Linked DNA regions of Homo sapiens: regions 1, 2, 3, 4, 5 and 6 are each linked to region 7. Evidence: promoter capture Hi-C in 16 types of primary human blood cells and fetal thymus (Javierre and others, 2016). All regions are on one chromosome and are shown on one strand. The core of a region is centred on a gene start or on the middle of the fragment in contact, and the rest is flanking DNA. Distances in the headings are between cores, read along the strand shown. Region 1 has its middle 27 kb from the start of BCL2A1. Region 2 overlaps ZFAND6 (zinc finger AN1-type containing 6). Region 3 has its middle 7.6 kb from the start of FAH. Region 4 overlaps FAH (fumarylacetoacetate hydrolase). Region 5 overlaps ZFAND6 (zinc finger AN1-type containing 6). Region 6 overlaps FAH (fumarylacetoacetate hydrolase). Region 7 holds the start of TMED3 (transmembrane p24 trafficking protein 3).

Region 1 (2,700 bases), core at 67-2,566, 690 kb after region 7:
AAAATAGCTGGGTGTGGTGGTGGGCACCTATAATCCCAGCTACTCAGGAGGCTGAGACAGGAAAATTGCTTGAACCCAGAAGGCGGAGGTTACAGTGAGCCAAGATTGCACCACCGCACTCCAGCCTGGGCAACAGAGCAAGACTCCGTCTCAAAAAAAAAAAAAAAAAAAGAACGAACTATTGATCTATTGATACAAGCAACACAGATAGATGTCAACATATTATGCTAAGTTTAAAAAGCCTTATAAAAAGGTAAATACTGTGTAAATACTGTATAATTCCATTTATATGAAAGTATAAAACAGACAAAACTAATCTATGGTGGAAAAAAAATCAGAGGAGTGCATATCTCTGAGGAGCAAAGGTGAAGATTGACTGTAAAGAATGTAAGAGGAGGCTGGGAACAGTGGCTCTCGCCTGTAATCCTGGCACTTTGGGAGGCCAAAGCAGGCAGATCACCTGAGGTCAGGAGTTCGAGACCAGCCTGGCTAACATGGCGAAATCCCGTTTCCACTAAAAATGCAAAAAAAAAGGCCTGACGTGGTAGTGCACACCTGTAGTTCCAGCTACTCAGGAGGCTGCGGCAGGAGAATCACTTGAACCCGGGAGGCGGAGGTTGCAGTGAGCTGAGATTGCACCATTGCACTCCAGCCCGGCAACAGAGCGAGACTCCATCTCAAAAATAAAAATAAAGGCCAGGTGCGGTGGCTCACACCTGTAATCCCAGCACTTTGGGAGGCTGAGGCGGGTGGATCACAAGGTCAGGAGTTCAAGACCAGCCTGGCCAATATGGTGAAACCCCATCTCTACTAAAAATACAAAAATTCGCCGGGCATGGTGGTGGGTGCCTGTAATCCCAGCTACTCAGGAGGCTGAGGTAGGAGAATCACTTGAACCCAGGAGGCGGAGGTTGCAATGAGCCAAGATCGTGCCACTGCATTCCAGCCTGGGCAACAGAGTGAGACTCCATTTCAATAAGTAAATAAATAAATAATTTTAAAAGAATATAAGAGGACTTTCTGGGTGATAGCAATATCCTATATCTTGGAAGAGGTTTGGGTTACACATGCATTAGTCAAAATTGAACTAATGTACACACATGAGGCGAATCTCATCTGCAGTTAATTGACTGTAAATTTTACAACAAAATTAAAAACCATAAGCAAATATTGAATTCTAGTTAATAATATGCATGCTGACTACCTGGGTGAAGTATACTGATATCTGTGATTTACTTTAAAATTAACCAAAATCAGGCCAGACACAGTGTCTCATGCCCGTAATCCCATTGTTTTGGAGGCCTAGGTGGTAGGATCACTTGAGCCTAGGATTTTGAGGCTGTCATGAACTATGATCATGCCCCGGCACTCCAGCCTGGGCAACAGAGCGAGACTCTGTCTCAAAAAACAAAACAAAATAAAAAATTTAAGTTGGCCAAAATTAAATGAATTAGGCCAGGTGCAGTGGCTCACGCCTGTAATCACAACACTGAGATGCCAAGGAGGGAGGATCACCTGAGGTCAGGAGTTTGAGACCAGCCTGGCCAACACGGTGAAACTCCATCACTACTAAAAATACAAAAATCACCTGGGCATGGTGGCACATGCCTGTAGTCCTAGCAACTCAGGAGGCTGAGGCAGGAGAATCACTTGAACCTTGGAGGCAGAGGTTGCAGTGAGCTGAGATCATGCCATTGCACTCCAGCCTGGGCCACAGGGCAAGACTCTGTCTCAAAAAAAATTAAACAAAATAAAAAAGTGAAATAAACTAAAATGAATTAATCAAGGGATAGAGGGATGAAAAGATCTGTAGTTATATGATAAAGCTAGTAGAGTAAAATATTAACGGTAGACTAGCTGATGGGCATATATGGCTCTAAAACAGAAAAAAACTAAGGTGAAAAATAAATCTGAACAGTGGTTGCTGAGGTCAGGGAAGATTGCCTGGGAGAGGACTTGAGGGAACTTTCTGGGTGATGGCAGTGCTCTCCATCTTGGTATGGCTCTGTTTAATGCAAGGATATCTATTTGTAAATTTTGAGGCTAAGATTTATGCAGTTCAATGCATGTACATTTTGCCAAGAATAACGAACTATAAGAAAATAATAATAGAGTAGAGGTGAGGGGAGGTATAGATAAAACAAGAATAGCAGAGGCCAGGCGTGGTGGCTCACACCTGTAATCCCAGCACTTTGGGAGGCCTAGGCGGGCGGATCACCTGAGGTTGGGAGTTCGAGACCAGTTTGAGAAACCCCATGTCTATTAAAAATACAAAATTAGCTGGGCGTGGTGGCACATGCCTGTAATCTCAGCTACTCAGGAGGCTGAGGCAAGAGAATCACTTCAACCCGGGAGGCGGAGGTTGCAGTGAGCCAAGATCGCGCCATTGCACCCCAGCCTGGGCAATGAGAGTAAAACTCCGTCTCAAAATTAAAAAAAAAAAGAATAGCAGAATGTTGAGTTTTATTAAGACTGGATGATGTATGGGTGAGAGTTTATTACATTATTATCTTTATTTTGTATATATTGAAATTATTTCTCCAATAAGATGCCTTTCCAAAGAATGTGATTTACAATAGCATCAAAAATATCAAATATATAGCAATAATCTAATAAAAGATATGCAAAAGCTCTCTGTAGAAAACTATTAAATATTATTGAGAGAAATTAAAGAAAACTCACATAAATGGAGATATATAA
Region 2 (2,700 bases), core at 135-2,634, 750 kb after region 7:
CCACATTATGAAAAAAAGAGAAACTGGTGAAAATACGTTTTATGTAACCCAAAAACTATTATTTCAACATGTAATCAGTATAAGAAATTGTTGATGGGATAGTTGTCTTTTTTTAGACTGTCTTTATAATTTGGTGTGTATTTTCCACTTAAAGTACATCTCAATTCAGACTAGCTACATTTCTTTTTTTGTATTTTTTTTGAGACAGAGTCTTGCTCTGTCTCCCAGGCTGGAGTGCAACGGTGCGATCTCAGCTCACCGCAACCTCTGTCTCCTAGGTTGAAGTGATTCTTGTTCCTCAGCCTCCCGAGTAGCTGAGACTACAGACATGCACCACCACGCCCAGCTAATTTTTTTTTTTTTTTTTGAGACGGAATCTTACTCTGTTATACAGGCTAGAGTGCAGTGGCACAATCTCGGCTCACAGCAACCTGGGTTCAAGCGATTCTCCTGCCTCAGCCTCTCCCCAGTAGCTGGGACTACAGGTGCATGCCACTACACCCAGCTAATTTTTGTATTTTTAGTAGAGAGGGGGTTTCAGCATGTTGGCCAGCCTGGTCTCAAACTCCTGACCTCAGGTGATCCACCTGCCTAGGCCTCCCAAAATGCTAGGGTTACAGGTGTGAGCCACTGCACCCGGCCTAAATTTTTATGTTTTTAGTAGAGACCGCGTTTCACCATGTTGGCCAGGCTGGTCTTGAACTCCTGGCCTCAAATGATCTGCCTGCCTTGGCCTCCCAAAGTGCTGGGATTACAGGCGTGAGCCACCATGTCTGACCCAGACTGGCCACATTTCAAGTGCTCGGTAGCCACATATGACTAGTGGTTACCCACATGGACAGTTCCATCTTATAAAAGTACTATAACCTAGTTATCTGTTGGGTGTAACTTAAGTTTATTATTTTTTTCTTATTATTATAAGTAGTGTGATAAATATAAGAGCTACTACTATGTATTTGTCATTGTTTCTTTCGGATCTAGTCTGTCTTACAATCACTGAATCAAAGCATATGAACATTTCTTAAAGTCTTTTCATAAATATTGCCAAATTTTGTCCTTAAAAGTTTGACTAACATCAAACTTTAATATCAAATTTGACTAAAAATATGACAGAATACACATTTCTTGTATATCTTTACCAGCATTATCTGTCTATCCATCTACCCTCCATCTTTCCTTCCCTTTCTATAGGAATCATCATATATTTCTTTAATTAATTATGATGGTAAATAAACCTGGATATTGGACATCTTCTAGTTTATCTTTTGCCCATTTTGGCTGGTGTTTTATATTTGTGATACCCTTTTAAACTTTTTATATTTTTAGGATTTAGGATAGCAACTCTGCTATATACTGCAAATATACATATACACACAAATATATATACACATGTATACATACACACACACACACACACACACGTATGTTTGGGTTTTTTAAAATGTTTTTTGAGACACGGTCTTGCTCTATCACCCAGGATAGAGGGCAGTGGTGCAGTCATGGTTCACTGAGGCCTCTACTTCCTGGGCTGAAGTGATTATCCCGCCTCAGCCTCCTGTGTAACTGGGATTACAGGCGTTCCCCACCATGCCTGGCAATTTTTTGTGGAGATGGGGTTTTACCATGTTGCCCAGAATGGTTTCAAACTCCTGGGCTCAAGCAATTTACCTGCCTTGGCCTCCCTAAGTGCTGGGATTACAGGTATGAGCCACTGGGCCTGGCATGCAAATATTTTTCCTGGCTCTTCATTTACCTAACAGTGTTGTCTTTTCTCTTGCTCTCTCTCTCTCCCCCTTTTTTTTTTTTTTTTTTTTAACAAAACAAAAAAACAGGCAAGGGTTTTTACTTTTTAAGAAAATTAGGTTAATACTTTCTTTTATGGCTTCTACTTTGCTTTTATATTTAAAGGCTTCTCCTACCCAGTTAAGTTTTCTTCTAGTTCTTTTACGGTTTCATATTTCACATCTGTCTTTTTCTGTTCATCTGGGATTTATTTTGACATATGTGAAGTGAAATAACCTCCCTTATTTTTCCTTAAAAATTTTGGCCCCACTAAAAAAAAAAACAACTTGTTGCCTTGAAATAAAGCTGCCTTTATCATATGTTAAATGCACATCTTCTTGGTTCTTTTTAGGTTTTATTGAAATATCAATGATTTGGTACCAGTGTACACTTGTATACATGGGGCATGGTATTTTCATTTTGTAAACAAGTGTGTTTCTGTTATTGTTTAAGTCTCCCCCCCATCCCCCTTTTTTGGTTGTTGCTTTGTTAGTCCTCAGATTTTTTAGTTTATTCTTTTGGGGCTTCAAATTAGTTTTGGTTTTGATTTTTTTTTTTTTTTTTTTTTTTTTGGAGACAGAGTCTTACTCTGTTGCCCAGGCTGGAGTGTGATGGCATGATCTTGGCTCACTGCAGCCTTTGTCTCCAGGTTCAAGTGATTCTCATGCCTCAGCCTTCTGAGTAGTTGGGATTACAGGGGTGTGCCACCACACCTGGCTAATTTTTGTGTTTTTAGTAGAGATAGGGTTTCATCGTGTTGGCCAAGCTGGTCTCGAACCCCTGACCTCAGGTGATCTACCCACCTCGGCCTCCCAAAGTGCTGGGATTACAGGCGTGACCCACTGTGCCTGGCCAGTTTTGAATTTTTTAACTTAAAAAAATTGCAACTTTTATAATATTTTATGTTTTATAATGAAA
Region 3 (2,885 bases), core at 304-2,803, 830 kb after region 7:
GCCAATGCGATACTGAAGAACAAAGACTGATGCTACCCAACTTAAACACCTACTATAAAGCTCCCATAATAAAGACTGGTATTTGCAGAATATATCAGAGAGCCCAGAAATAAACCAATACAAATATAGTCAACTGATCTTTGACAAAGAAGAGAAGACAATTCATGGAGAAAGTCTTTTTCATAGGAATACTTTTTCAAGCAGTAGTGATCAGCTGTACATTTACATGCAAAAAAAGTCAATCTAGACACCTTGAACCTTTCACAAAAGTTAACTCAAAATTTATCATAGACATAAATGTAAAACACAAAAATGTAAAACTTAGAATATAAGAAATTCAAGGTTTGGTTTCGATTTTTCTAAGTAAAACACTAAAAGCATAACTTGGGAAAGAAAAATTATTGATGACTTGGACTCTGTTAAAGTTAAAAACTGCTCTGCAGAAGCTGCTGTTAAGAAAATTAAAAGACAAGCCACAGACTTGGAAAAAATTAGCAAAACACATAAAGGGCTTTCATTTAACATATACAAAAAACTCTTAAAAGCTTAATTGTATGAAAACAGTCCAACCTAAAAATGGGCAAAATATCTGAATAGATATCAAAGAAGATACACTGATAGCAATTAAAAAAAAAAAAGCCTGCAGCCTCAGCTACTCAGGAGGCTGAGGTAGGAGAGTCACTTGAGGCCAGGAGTTTGAGTTTGGTCTGGGCAACATAGTGAGACCCCATTTCTAAAAATTTTTTTTAATGATTTAATAAAGTATACTTGGTTAAAAAGCAAAAGTGTCCACACAAAAACTTGCACACTGACATTTTAGCAGCTTTATCCTTAATTGCCAAAAATTGGGAGCAACCAAGATGTCCTTCAATAGGTGAACAAACAAACTGTGGAACATTTATACAGTGAAACAGTATTCAACAAAAATAGAAAGGAACTTTCAGGGCAGGAAAAGACATAGAAGAATCTTAATGCATATCGCTAAGTGAAAGAACCCAATCTTAAAAGCTACATACTATATGATTCCAATTATATGACATTCTGGAAAAGTCAAGACTACAGAGACAGTAAAGAGATAAGTGGCTGCCAGCGGTCCAGGGGATGAATAGAAGTAGCAGAAGGGATTTTTGGAAATTAAGAAAACAATCTCATTTACAATAGCTACCAAAAAACCCCCAACCAAACAAAACACTTGGGAATAAATTTAACCAAGGAGGTGAAGGACCTGTACACTGATAACTAGAAAACATCAATGAAAGAAATTGAAGAAAACAGAAATAAATGAAAAGATATGGCCAGGCGCGGTGGCTCAAGCCTGTAATTCCAGCACTTTGGGAGGCCGAGGCAGACAGATCACCTGAGTTGGGAGTTCGAAACCACCCTGCCAACATGGAGAAACCCTGTCTCTACTAAAAATACAAAATTAGCCAGGCGTGGTGGCGCATGCCTGTAATCCCAGCTACTCTGGAGGCTGAGGCAGGAGAATCGCTTGAACCTGGGAGGTGGAGGTTGCGGTGAGCAAAGATCGCGCCACTGCACTCCAGCTTGGACAGACAACAAGAGCGAAACTCCGTCTCAAAAAAAAAAAAAACAACATAAAAGATATCCCATGTTCATAGATTGGAAGACTTAATATTGTTAAAATGTCCATACTACCCAAAGCAATCTACAAATTCAATGGAATCCCTGTCAAAATTGTAACGATATTTTTCACAGAAACAAACAAACAAATCCTAAAACATGTATGGAACTGCAAAAGACGCTGAATAGCTAAAGCACTCTTGAGCAAAAAGAACAAAGCTGGAGGCATCACACTATCTGACTTCAACATCTACTACAAAGCAGCCAGATGTGGTGGCTCATGCCTGTAATTCCAGCACTTCGGGAGGCTGAGGCAGGAGGATCACTTGAGCCCAGGAGTTTGAGACCAGCCTACACAACATAGCTAGACTCCATCTCTACATTTTTTTTTTAAATATTGGCCAGGCATGGTGGCAGATGCCTATAGTCCCAGCTATGCAGAAGACTAAGGTGGGAGGATCACTTGAGCCACTGGGAGGTTGAGGCTGCAGTGAGCCGTGATCATATCACTGAATTCCAGCCAGAGAACAGAGCAAAACCCTGTCTCTAAAGCAAAGCAAAACAAAACAAAATGAATCTACTATATAGCTATAGTAATCAAAACAACATGGTGCTGGCATAATAACAGACATATTGAACAGAATAGAGAGCCCAGGAATAAATCCACAGATTTACAGCCAGTTGATTTTTCACAAAAGTGCTGAGAATACGTGATGGGGAAAGGACAGTCTCTTCAATAAATGATGTTGGGAAAATTGGATATCCACATGTGGAAGAATGAAATTAGACCCTTATCTCACACCATATATAAAAATCAACTCAAAATGGATTAAAAACGTAAACTTAAGAAATGAAACTGTAAAACTAGAAGAAAATGGGAAAAGCTCCATGTCATTGGTCTGGGCAATGATTTTTTGGATATGAACCCAAAAGCACAGGCAACAAAAGCAAATACAGACAGATGCGATTATATCAGGCTAAAAAGCTTCTGTATAGCCAAGGAAACAATCGACAAGAAAAAACCTAGGAAGTGGGAGAAAACATTTGCAAACCACACATCTGATATGGAATTAGAATCTAAAATAAATAATGAAGTCAAACAACTCAATAGCAAGAAAACAAGTAACCTAATTCTTAAAAAATGAGTAATGGATATGAATAGACATTTCCCAAAAGACATAAAAATGGCCAACAGGTATGTGAAAAAATGCTCAACATCATTATCAGAAAAATGCAAAATAAAACCACGATGAGATATCATCTCACACCTGTTAGAATGGCTATTATCAAAAAAACAAAAGACA
Region 4 (2,782 bases), core at 283-2,782, 870 kb after region 7:
TTATACATGTACAGCTTGAAGAATTTTCCTAAAATGAACATCCCTGTGCAACCAGCACCCAGATCAGAAATGGAAAATTTCCAGCACCTCAGCAGCCCCGTGGGGCCCTCCAGGTCACTTCATCACTCCCTCCAGCAAAGGTCACTCCTCTCCTGACCTCTGCTACCATGTATTATTTTTTTTCTGTTTTTCAGTTTTATAGAAATGGCATCATAAAGTAGCATGTATTCTTTTGTAGCTGGCATCTTTGTTTTAGTGTTAGATCTGTGAGATTCAACCCTGTTGCTCTTTGCAGTGACAGCTCATTTTTCTCATTGCCTTATAGTGTTGCACTGTATAAATATTCCACAACTGACTTAATTTTTTTTTTTTTTTGAGATGGAGTCTCGCTCGTTGCCCAGGCTGGAGTGCAGTGGCGCGATCTCGGCTCACTGCAAACTCCGCCTCCTGGGTTCATGCCATTCTCCTGCCTCAGCCTCCCGGGTAGCTGGGACTACAGGTGCCCGCCACCACGCCCGGCTAATTTTTTTTTTTGTATTTTTAGTGGAGATGGGGTTTCACCATGTTAGCCAGGATGGTCTCGATCTCCTGACCTTGTGATCCGCCCGCCTCAGCCTCCCAAAGTGCTGGGATTACAGGCATGAGCCACTGCGCCCGGCCAACTGACTTATTTTGTAAGTCACATCAATTCCACAATCGATGGACATTTGGTTGTTTCCGTTGTTTTTGGCTATCACAGAGTTACTGTGAACATTTTAGTACACACCTTTTGGTGCACATATGTGCACATTTCTATTGAGTGTATATCCAGTAATAGGCTTGCTGGGTCATAGAGTACACATAGACTCAGCCTAGGGGTACTTCCAAACAGTTTTTTGAAGTGGTTATACCAGTATATACTCCCACTAGCAGCATGTAAGCATTTTGCCTGCTCCACATCCTCGTCAGCTCTGGTGGTGTTTGCCTTTTCGTTCAAACCGTGCCTGGGATTGTGACTTCAGTTTGCATTTCCCTAATGACTAATGCAGCTGGGCATGTTAGTCATATGTTTATGGTTCATTTGTTTCTTGGCCTTTTGAATATCCTCTGAATCATTGAACTATTTCTAGTTTCCCTAATTTCCCTTCTAATTTAATATTATTCTGGGCTCCTTAGGGCTAGTAAGAAGAAATTAAGGGGCCTCCTTGCAGGGGCTCGTGGGCAAGAATCCATCTTTTGGGTTTCCTATGCCGGGATGTGTGGCTGTAGGAATGGCAATGTGAGAAGCTGTGGCCTGGGACAGGCATGGGCGTGCATTGCATCTGAGCGTCTCGGTGGGCACGTGGTGCCTTGGCCCCCTCTGCCCACAGCCTGACCGCCCACAGCTCTCCCTCGCTCCTTGGCCTGCCCTGACATCGTGTTTGAATCGTTCAGCTCCATTGCCCAGTGTCCATCCCAAGGCCCGGCATGGGAGAATGGGAGCGAGGGCTTTGCTCACGAGAAGCCTCTGCTGTGGTGTGGACTTAGATTCTCCCAATACGGGACTGGAGGGTGTTCCCAGGGCAGAGTGGAGTGTTGTACACAAGGGCATGTTGCAGGCTGAGGGACTGAGCAGTAAGGTCAGCCCTTAGGGGATGCTGCTTGGAGAAGGTGGTCAGTGTGGGCTTGAGGTAGCAGAGGAGCTGAGGTTGGAGTTTGTGAAGGAGATGGAAGAGCTTGGGGGAGGTCTCTGGGCAGCTCCCCAGGAGGACAATGTGTCCTTACTATAAGGGACTGGAGAGAGCTGGCTGGGGGAGCTGGGGACCGGGGAAAGGCCAGGGAAGGCGGTCGTGAGCAGGGCAGGCTGTGCCCAGCTGCCTCCGGGATGCTAGGCTAAGCCTGCCGCTGCTCATTCCACCTCGCGTCCATTGCCTGCAGTACATGTACTGGACGATGCTGCAGCAGCTCACTCACCACTCTGTCAACGGCTGCAACCTGCGGCCGGGGGACCTCCTGGCTTCTGGGACCATCAGCGGGCCGGTGAGTATCTGGCTGCACTGAGGGCTGCCCACGCAGAGCATCCCTGCTCCCCACACAGCCCCAAGGGCCCTCAGCTCAGCCTCGAGAAGAGATTTCAGGCCCGAGGTGGGTGTATCTCACAACTCTGTCTTCCTCGTAGCCTTTCTCTCTGGGTGCAGGAGGGACTTCTCATCCAAATTCAAACCTAAAGAGACTGGTGTGAGAACGGAAGCCTGGGTCTCTGCCTCTGTAGGGGAGCAGCGCAGTGACACGTGGGGAGGAGTCAGGAGACAGTGATAGTGTCTTGGTTGTCACCATCTCACACTACACCCTCCCAGGATGAGGTGGCCATGCTGCTGTGCCCCTTCCCACCCGCTTGTCCCCCTGTAAGCCTGCGGGAGTCACAGAACCTTCAGAGATGATGACCTTGGGGTGGTGCATGTGTCACTCACTTCCTGCAGGGGGCTGGCCGAGCCCTCTTGTTCCTTGAGCTGTCGACAGGAGGGTGTTAAGCATCACGATATCTGGGCAAACTGCAGCCTCCAGAGCAGGGAGGGGATGCTGCAGGGGGCACTGGGCACTCTGGTCAGGGATTCACTGATTCCTAAACAAGCGATGTCCTTAGTGGAACCATTGCTGTCCCCACAGGAAGAAGGGGCAGAGTTCCATGTCTCAAAGGCATCTCTGCAGTGATCCCACCAAGGCCGAGGCAGGGTCTCTGAGGGGCATGAGGGCCCCCTGCCACTTCTCGGGACTCCCAGGTCTTGCTGAGCATGGTCCATGCCAGAGCCAAGGCATAAATTCA
Region 5 (2,852 bases), core at 333-2,832, 770 kb after region 7:
AAATCTGAGACATTCCTTGAAGATTTGTTAGATAGGTTTGAGACTGGATGTACACTAAAAGCTTTATTTACCCGGAAAGAGGCAATCCTGGAATGGCAAAATGGAGGGAGTAATAGATTCTGGATATGCCAACCAAAATTTTGCTGGTTTAGCAGGTGCCATTTAATTTCTCATTTTTCCAGTAAGCCCAGGTGGGGAAGAGGTATGGAGTATACATAGGATATGGGAATGGTGTGACTGTGAGCAGTGGTGAATTATGAAGGCTTCTATGCAAATAAGTGGTAAAAACAGGGTTTGGAATATTAATTTAATTGCAACTCATATTGGACACTATCAGACACATTAACTTTAAGTTCTCACAATATCATGAGATGGGTATTATTGTTGTGCCTATTTCGCAGATGATAATGCTAAGTTTATAGAGAGATAGGAAAAATTGACAAAGGTTAAACAGGTTTATAGACAGATAGGACAAATTGACAAAGGTTATGTGGCAGAGCCTAGATTGAAATTGGGAAGGCTGATACCAGAGCATGATCTTGCTATTCAGGTTTACTTAGAGAGGGAAGGTTTACTTAGGGAGAGGAATTCAAGGCAGGGAGACTACCAGTTGTTGTTTTTGAAGTTCTGTGGTAATGTGAGTAATTTTACTAATGTTCCTAAACCTTTGGGTTTGGTATCTCAATATCACTGTCAAGTGACTTTCTGGGAAAGGTAGGAAAGATTGACAGATGGATATAGCAGGGATTATTCATTCTTATTTTAGTGAGTGTCAAAGGATGGAAACTGGTAAGAGTTCCAGATATTTAAGGAGTTTATTATGAGGATTGGACCATGCTTCCCTCCTTGTTTTGCTGAGTTTATATCTTCTGGTTCTTTGATTTCCTATGAACTAAAAATCAGAATTCCATCTTAGAAATTTATTATTCAATTGAACTGCCCTCACCTCCCTTAATTTTCTTTTATAAAGTTTTCTCTGAGGTGGATATGGGATAGAAAAAATGATGGTGGACTGAGCACCTACTATGTATCCTATACATATATACATATGTTATTTTATTTATTTATTTATTTTGAAATGGAGTCTCACTCTGTCGCCCAGGCTGGAGTGCAGTGGCGCGATCTTGGCTCACTGCAAGCTCCGCCTCCTGGGTTCACGCCATTCTCCTGCCTCAGCCTCCCGAGTAGCTGGGACTACAGGCACCTGCCACCACGCCTGGCTAATTTTTGTATTTTTTAGTAGAGACGGGGTTTCACCGTGTTAGCTGGGATGGTCTCAATCTCCTGACCTCGTGATCCGCCCGCTTCGGCCTCCCAAAGTGCTGGGATTACAAGCATGAGCCACCGCACCTGGCCTATACATACGTTATTTTAAACCTCCCAGCCCTGTGAATTGGTGGTGGTATTATCCATAATAATAAATTCTGCACAGGTTTCTTAAGCAACTACTGGGTGCTATGCTAAGAACTTATGATATGTTGGGGAAACATGCAGAGAATTTATATTAAATGATAATGAGGGAGAAAAGAGACCAGATTATCATTGGAGCAGAGTCAGAGAAGACTGTAAAGTGGCTGTGCTAAGACTTAGAAAATAAATAAAAGTTAACCAGAGTGAGTGAAAGGGATGTTAGGTAAGCCTTGTAACTTTAGAGAAAAGCGTGTTCATGGAGATGATTAAGCATGGAAGTTAGGCTGGGCACAGTGGCTCATGCCTGTAATCCCAGCACTTCAGGAAGCCAATGTCAGGAGTTTGAGACTAGCCTGGCCAACGTGGTGAAACCGTGTATCTACTAAAAATATAAAAATCAGCTGGGCATGGTGGTGAGCATCTGTAATCCCAGCTACTCAGGAGGCTGAGGAGGTTGCGGTGAGCTCAGATCATGCCATTGCACTCCAGCCTGGGCAACAGAGCGAAATTCCTTCTCAAAAGCATGGAAGTTGAGAGCTTTAGGGCCCAGGAGGAAAAATGGCAGGAGAATGAGGCTTCATAGACAAGATGAGCTAAACCTATTCTCTTAGTGATGGAAAACCTTTGAATTACTGATTTGGGGCGTGGTCTGATCACCCTGAGAGGATTTAAATATCCTCTTAGGCAGTAAAGTGGCATGGGTTCAAGATTGTGCAGCTAAGAAGAAACAGCTCAGATCTGAATCCAGGCCTTGTCTCAGTATTATAGCACTCTGCTTCTTATGAAGTCTGTTTAAGCCTAGATCAGGGTTAGGCATGATTACAGCACACACATAGTTGCTGCAAATCAGTTCAGAGAGGCAAGAGATTAAGTGAGATTTACGAAGTGTAGGTCGATCATCCCAAATTCGAAATTTGAAATACTCCAAGATTGGAAATTTTCTGAGTGCAGACACGATGCTGAAAGAAAATGTTCATTGGAGCATTTCAGATTTTGGATTTTCAGATTAGGGATGCTCAACTGTTAAGTATATAATGCAAATATTCCAAAATACAAAAAAATTTGAAATCTGAAACTCTTCTGGTCCCAGACATTTTGGAAAAAGGATATACTTCCTAATAACTGAGGCCTAACTGGCCAAGAAGTGGGAGGGAGGAGGGCCTAAACCAGATGTAATGGCATAAAAGGGTTAGATGAGGAGTATTGATTTAATTACTAATTTACGTGGGGGCAGTGTGTCAGAAATGACCAAGGCGTTAAGCCGGGTTGGCAGAGAGATGATAGTTTCCTTGAAAACAATACTAAGTTAGGCAAAGCTATTTCTTGGAGCAAGTTCCTGAGCTATGTTGAATTTTGAGATTTAGGATTTTCTCTTCAAGTCATTGAAGGTTTTTGCTTTTACTAACCTGCAGATTTGACTCTGTATTAGACTCTGAGGATAC
Region 6 (2,768 bases), core at 181-2,680, 850 kb after region 7:
TGGGCTGGGGCTGTCCTGGAATGTCCACAGTCTAGCAAAGATGTGCACACACATAACTGGAGCACCAGTGGGAAGCGAAGCCTGCCCCAGAAGGATTCAGGGGAGGGGATTTGGAGGGGGAAGAGATCCTGCTAGAGAGAGCAGGGAGGGCTTCAGGGAGGAGCGGGCCTCAAAGAGTTGCCAGGATTTGAATACACAGGGACAAGGGAGAAGTCAATCAGTATAGGCGTGGTGAGGGAGCCTGTGGGAACTCGGGAATGGCAGTTGTGTGTGGGAAAAGTGGGGAGCCTGAGAAGGGAGGTGGTATCAGCCACTTGGTGTTCACATTCCACTGTCAGTTTCAGAAAGTCTGGACTCCTGATTTCTTATTTGTTTCTCAGCTGAGGGCTCTAAAAACAAATCTTCAGTGAGGATATTTTATATTGCATTTGGTGCTGCCATTGCTGGCTGCAGGCTGAGCTCTGGATGTGTAAACAGTATTGTGTGCACACTCGTGGCTCCAGTGCTTGGAACAGTCCATTCTTCCTGAGGCATGTGGGTTGCTGATGGGATCTGTTGGGTCTTTCCTCTGCAGGAGACTACACAGACTTCTATTCCTCTCGGCAGCATGCTACCAACGTCGGAATCATGTTCAGGGACAAGGAGAATGCGTTGATGCCAAATTGGTATGAACTGGGCCAAATGTCTGCATAAGTTCAAAGTCTTTCTTTTCATTTCCAGCAGCATATTTGTCTCAGGAGCTGCCAAGTTCTTCTTAAAGTAAACTGGGGAGGAAAAGCAGTTATGATGTTGCAACCTCTGGAAGCAGTGGTCTCAGCTTCTGGTCTCCTGCTCAGCTTGGCTTAGGACTTGCTGTGGGATCGAAGGGCAAGTCCCTTAAACTTCCTTGGACAGCAGGGGTTGGAATTAGATTCCCTTAATCCCTATGCTCCTTCTGGAGTCTTTCATTTATAAGCTGTGTATTATTGTACTATGGGCAAGTCTTAGACTCTAGCATGCTCCATACTTACATTTTCTGATGAATGAGAATCCTCAAATGTGCCCAGTGCTGTATATTCCTCAACATGTGATCGGTTTCATTCATTTGTTTGATCCTCGTAGTAGTTCTCTGATGTCACAAGGCCATGATTGTAAGCCCCATTTTACAGACAGGAAAATGGGCTCAGAGAAGGATCAACTTGCCTGAGCACAACAGGGCCACAGCCTGTCTCCCAGCCCCCAGATCAGGCCATTGACCAAGCTGAGGATGCAGAGCTGGGATCCTTGCCCTTTGTTCTGTGTTGTCCCCTGGATGTGATGGTTCCTTGGAACTGAAGAGGGCCTGGACTCAGTGGCAGGCATACACTCCAGGCCCCAGTGCCATCAGTCACACACAGGAGCTGGGTTAGGGACGGGGCTTTACTCTCTCTCGAGTGAGTGTCTCCAGTAGGCTATGCCATGAGGGGAGGGTCTGTTAGAACCAAGATGAGGAAGAAAGAAAGGGAGAGAGAGCAGTTCCAAGCCAGAGATGTTGAACAACAAGGCCAAGGTTGCAGAATGAGGCAGGGGTGAATCTGAGACCAGAACCCAGGCTCCAGGTTCCAGGCTTCCACGTGAGATGCGCAAATATTTGAGAATCTTGCACTGTACAGGCTCCAGGCTGTATTTGTCCCCAGCCAGCTTCAACTTGTCTATCTGATGGGCTGAGTGTCTATATGAGTGTCCTTGGCAGTGATGACCCAGTGGACTGCCCAGCCCCAGAAGAGCTGGCTGTCACCTGTGTGCCAGGATCCCAGTGGCCAAAGGGCAGGGGCACCAGGAAGTGAGAGGAGAGCCGGGACCTGGGAAATGAGTGTTGACTGTGTCTGAAACCGAGTGTGGGGGCCGCAGCCATCCTTGCCCCATGTCCTTCTGCAGAATAAGAGTAAACAGGCCTTCTCTAGCCATGTTTGATGCAAGATGGCCCACAGCTGTGACTTTTTAGCTTTATGTACATAGTCTTTATTATAAAGGTAACATATATTTACTGGAATTAACCCAAACACTACAGAAAATATGTAAACATTTACAATTAAAAATGTGTCTACTCTTTGACCTGCAATGCTCACTTTCATGCATCTATCCTACAGAAATAAAAGCACCAGTGGGTTGTATCCAAGAGCAAGGATGTTAATTAGCAGAGTTTCTAGTGGCCCAGAACTGGAAGTAATCTGAATGCTTATCGGTGGAGGAATGGTTGAAAAATTGGTCTATTCACAATATGAAATGTTTTGCAGCTAGTGAAAGATTTAGATCAAGAAAGATGTGCACTGATCTGTGTTAAGTGAAATAGGTAAACTATAGGCAATTAGGTAAAGTGTGTCTCACTTTTATAAAAAAAGCACAAAAAATATATATGTACATACACACTGTATTAGTTTTCTGTTGCTGCTGTAACAAATTACCACAAACTTGGTGGCTTAAAACACAAATATATTCTCTTCTAGTTCCGGAGGCCAGAAGTCAAAAATCAGTCTCACTGGCTAAAGTCAAGGTGTCAGCAGGGCTGGTTCCTTCTGGAGGCTCTAGGAGAGAACCCATTTCTTTGACTTTTCAGCTTTAGAGGTTGCCTGTATCCCTTGCCTTTTGACCCCTTCCTCATATCACTCCAACCACTTGCTTCTGCTGTTACATTTCCTACTTCCTCCTTTGACCTTGCCTCTGTCTATAAGGACCCTTGTGATTACATTTAGGGTTCACTCAAATAACCAGGGACAGTATCCCTATCTCAAGATCCCTAACTTAATCAC
Region 7 (2,700 bases), core at 172-2,671:
CCTGCCTCCCTGCCTCAGCCTCCCGAGTAGCTGGGACTACAGGCACGCACCACCACCCCCAGCTAATTTTTGTATTTTTAGTCGAGAAGGGGTTTCACCACATTGGCCAGGATGATCTCGATCTCTTGACCTCGTGATCCACCCGCCTCAGCCTCCCAAAGTGCTGGGATTACAGGCGTGAGCCACCACTCCCGGCCAATTGTGGTTTTATATCTGTCATTTATTTCTCCACTTAGTTCATCTAGATCAGATGATTATTACTTCCATGTTTTCTATCAGTTCCTAAAAAAAAAAAAAACGTGAAATAGGACCGTGCCAGGGAAGGAAGCTTAAGGGACACTACTAAACACCTCTTCCATGCCTGTCACTGAGCCAGTCAATATTATTAACTATGTTATGCATGCATGTTATTTCCAAGCCTACAGATTGCTTTCACACATTAGCGTGTTCATCCATAGTGAATGTGGCCAGCGGAAATCTATATGGGCAGTAACATTCTTTCCTGAAGTCAAGATATACCACGTCTAGTAATGCTCTCCTGAATAAGTTATTTATTGAGTATCGACATCACAATCTACGTCTTTTCTCTTTGTTTATTGGATCACAGTGAATATAAAACTATACCTATAGTTACGATTATACAAAAGAATCTTAAGTCAGTGGTCATGGGTAAGACAGTAAACCAATTTATCTGCTTTCAGAGCTTTTAAGAAGTCAAAGTGCAAAAATGACAGTTTTGTGCAAAAAGAATTTTCAACGAGCCTGACAGCCAAAATATACCTGAAGTCGCTGCGAGACTTTACTTGGATTTTCATGAGATCGTTTGTGTGTGAGCACGCTCGTGTTTTTCCCAGAGCAGGTGTAATGATGGGTCTTTACTTACTCTCCCCACTCCCCACCCCCTTCGCACACTCTTTCACCTTGGGAAGGGTATGGGAATGAAGAAAGGAGTGTTAATCGGGTTCCCAGCGTTCCCTTATCTTTCACCTAGCTCCCTAACTACTGTGGATGTTAGGTTTGGGCACACCCATTTCAAGACAAGGAGACTGGTTCTCGAGGGAAGTGTGAGACTGAAGTTACAGAGCCTGTCAAAAGCGGAGCCTTATAGAGGGAGTAAAATCCCACGTGCTTCGTGCTGCAGCAGCTGGAGGGTGGACCTGGGTCGACCTGGGGGGATGCTCAGCCCTGCGGGTCCGGGAGCGCGCAGAACAGCGGGGAGGGCTTCTCCCTCTTCTGGGTAGGGGCGCGCTAGGTGGAGCCCCACCTCCCCTCCGCGGAGACCCACCCTCCGAGCCGGGAGAGGCGTTGCGGGGGGGTGGGGGGGGCGTGTCCCCTGGCGCAGCGCGGCCAGCGCGCACGCGCAGCGGGCGGAAGGTGCCCGGGCCCACTTTGAGCGCGCGGCTGCGCACTGAGCCGCCGGCCCTCCCGGAAGCGCAGAGCTCCGCTGGTGCCACGTCTATCCCCTTACATCCTCCTAGGACCCGGTCGGTAGTCGTCGCCCCAGCCCGCCGGGGGCGCAGCGCCCGAGCCGCGGCCCTCGAGACGGGACCGAGAGCATCATGGGCAGCACTGTCCCGCGCTCCGCCTCCGTGCTGCTTCTGCTGCTGCTCCTGCGCCGGGCCGAGCAGCCCTGCGGGGCCGAGCTCACCTTCGAGCTGCCGGACAACGCCAAGCAGTGCTTCCACGAGGAGGTGGAGCAGGGCGTGAAGTTCTCCCTGGATTACCAGGTGAGGCCGGGCGCCCGGCAGCGCTCCCTTCTCCCTCCACTCCCAGGTCTCACCTGGACACTGGCTAGCCCCTGACTGGAGGCGCTCGAATTAGCCACAGGCTACAGGGAGGCTGCATGGGGTGGGAGTCCCCGGAGACCAGTTGACTTCCCCGTGAGGAGGAAGGTTTGGGTCATCAGGGCCCACCCGAGACGAGCCTGGCCAGCGAGGAGGTAGTCAGCGCCGCAGGTGCGAGCCCGGGATGGGGACGCCAGGGCGGATCCCGCAGCCTGGGGAGCTGGCCAAAGAGATATCCGCAGGCCCCCGAGACACTAACCAACGGCAGTTCTGATCGGCTGGACACAGGCTCTCTAACCCCAGTCTCTTAGACCACCTTGTGCCTTCGAGTACTGAAAAATGGCAGCAAGAGGAAGTGGGCTCATAGTTTTAGTTTATTCCTCCCCTCTCCAGCGTTTAAAGTTGGAGTGAGGTGAGGGCAGCAGAAGTGAGAATGGGCACTTTGGAAAGGAGGGATCAGTGCAGCCATTGAGGCCTGGCGGTGTTTACAAGGAGCGGTGTGGCTGCAAGACTTGGCTCTTGCCATATGGCTTAGAAAAGCTCAGTTCCTGTATTCCTGTCTCCTTTGAGAGATCCCGTGGCCCACAGGTGACAGGAGCAGGTCTTGAGTGAGTAGTCTGCCCCGATATTTAGTGAGCAGGTCTAGGGTTGGGGGCCAAGTGGGCATCATACTCAGACAGCTATCTGCTTGTGGACGCATGCTGATAGGCACTTCAGAAATGAGGGGCCACGGGCAGCAGGAATGGGGGCAAGCTATTTGACCAGTTCCTCTGTGGTTAGAGGCACTGAAGGAAGCTTGCGCTTGGAGACAACTTCTATGTGGTAGTCTCAGTCACTGATTTGTCCACTTTCAGGTCTTTGTGGACAACATGCAAATTGTGACTGGGTTAACATGGGCAACCTAGGTGCAATGACA

Evidence for each region. Contacts are between HindIII fragments. The CHiCAGO score rates a contact against its expected background, and 5 or more counts as called.
Region 1: a fragment that was not itself captured here is called in contact with the fragment with the promoter of TMED3 in region 7 in 1 of 17 cell types (naive CD4 T cells); the score reaches 5.1 in naive CD4 T cells.
Region 2: a contact is called between a fragment that was not itself captured here and the fragment with the promoter of TMED3 in region 7, in 1 of 17 cell types (fetal thymus). The highest score is 5.7, in fetal thymus.
Region 3: a fragment that was not itself captured here is called in contact with the fragment with the promoter of TMED3 in region 7 in 1 of 17 cell types (fetal thymus); the score reaches 5.0 in fetal thymus.
Region 4: a contact is called between a fragment that was not itself captured here and the fragment with the promoter of TMED3 in region 7, in 1 of 17 cell types (naive CD8 T cells). The highest score is 5.7, in naive CD8 T cells.
Region 5: a fragment that was not itself captured here is called in contact with the fragment with the promoter of TMED3 in region 7 in 1 of 17 cell types (naive CD4 T cells); the score reaches 5.2 in naive CD4 T cells.
Region 6: a contact is called between a fragment that was not itself captured here and the fragment with the promoter of TMED3 in region 7, in 1 of 17 cell types (naive CD8 T cells). The highest score is 5.6, in naive CD8 T cells.

What each region holds. Positions count from the first base shown.
Region 1 is chr15:79,996,824-79,999,523 of GRCh38, forward strand. No RefSeq gene overlaps it. Among named protein-coding and RNA genes, the nearest start is that of BCL2A1, 27 kb to the left of the region's middle. The HindIII fragment of the contact is 6,034 bases long and covers 1-2,700 here.
Region 2 is chr15:80,063,209-80,065,908 of GRCh38, forward strand. The region is part of intron 1 of ZFAND6 (zinc finger AN1-type containing 6); the gene reads left to right. Among named protein-coding and RNA genes, the nearest start is that of ZFAND6, 4.9 kb to the left of the region's middle. The HindIII fragment of the contact is 4,753 bases long and covers 1-2,700 here.
Region 3 is chr15:80,144,002-80,146,886 of GRCh38, forward strand. No RefSeq gene overlaps it. Among named protein-coding and RNA genes, the nearest start is that of FAH, 7.6 kb to the right of the region's middle. The HindIII fragment of the contact is 2,021 bases long and covers 544-2,564 here.
Region 4 is chr15:80,178,228-80,181,009 of GRCh38, forward strand. FAH (fumarylacetoacetate hydrolase) reads left to right here. Exons shown (of 14, transcript NM_000137.4): 12 at 1,897-1,998. Among named protein-coding and RNA genes, the nearest start is that of FAH, 27 kb to the left of the region's middle. The HindIII fragment of the contact is 4,346 bases long and covers 1-2,782 here.
Region 5 is chr15:80,081,935-80,084,786 of GRCh38, forward strand. All of the region lies in intron 1 of ZFAND6 (zinc finger AN1-type containing 6), which reads left to right. Among named protein-coding and RNA genes, the nearest start is that of ZFAND6, 24 kb to the left of the region's middle. The HindIII fragment of the contact is 3,047 bases long and covers 60-2,852 here.
Region 6 is chr15:80,161,672-80,164,439 of GRCh38, forward strand. FAH (fumarylacetoacetate hydrolase) reads left to right here. Exons shown (of 14, transcript NM_000137.4): 5 at 575-665. Among named protein-coding and RNA genes, the nearest start is that of FAH, 10 kb to the left of the region's middle. The HindIII fragment of the contact is 7,230 bases long and covers 1-2,768 here.
Region 7 is chr15:79,309,691-79,312,390 of GRCh38, forward strand. TMED3 (transmembrane p24 trafficking protein 3) reads left to right here and starts at 1,422. Exons shown (of 3, transcript NM_007364.4): 1 at 1,422-1,727. The coding sequence starts at 1,560. RefSeq lists silencers at 1,266-1,315, 1,526-1,595. The HindIII fragment of the contact is 2,251 bases long and covers 327-2,577 here.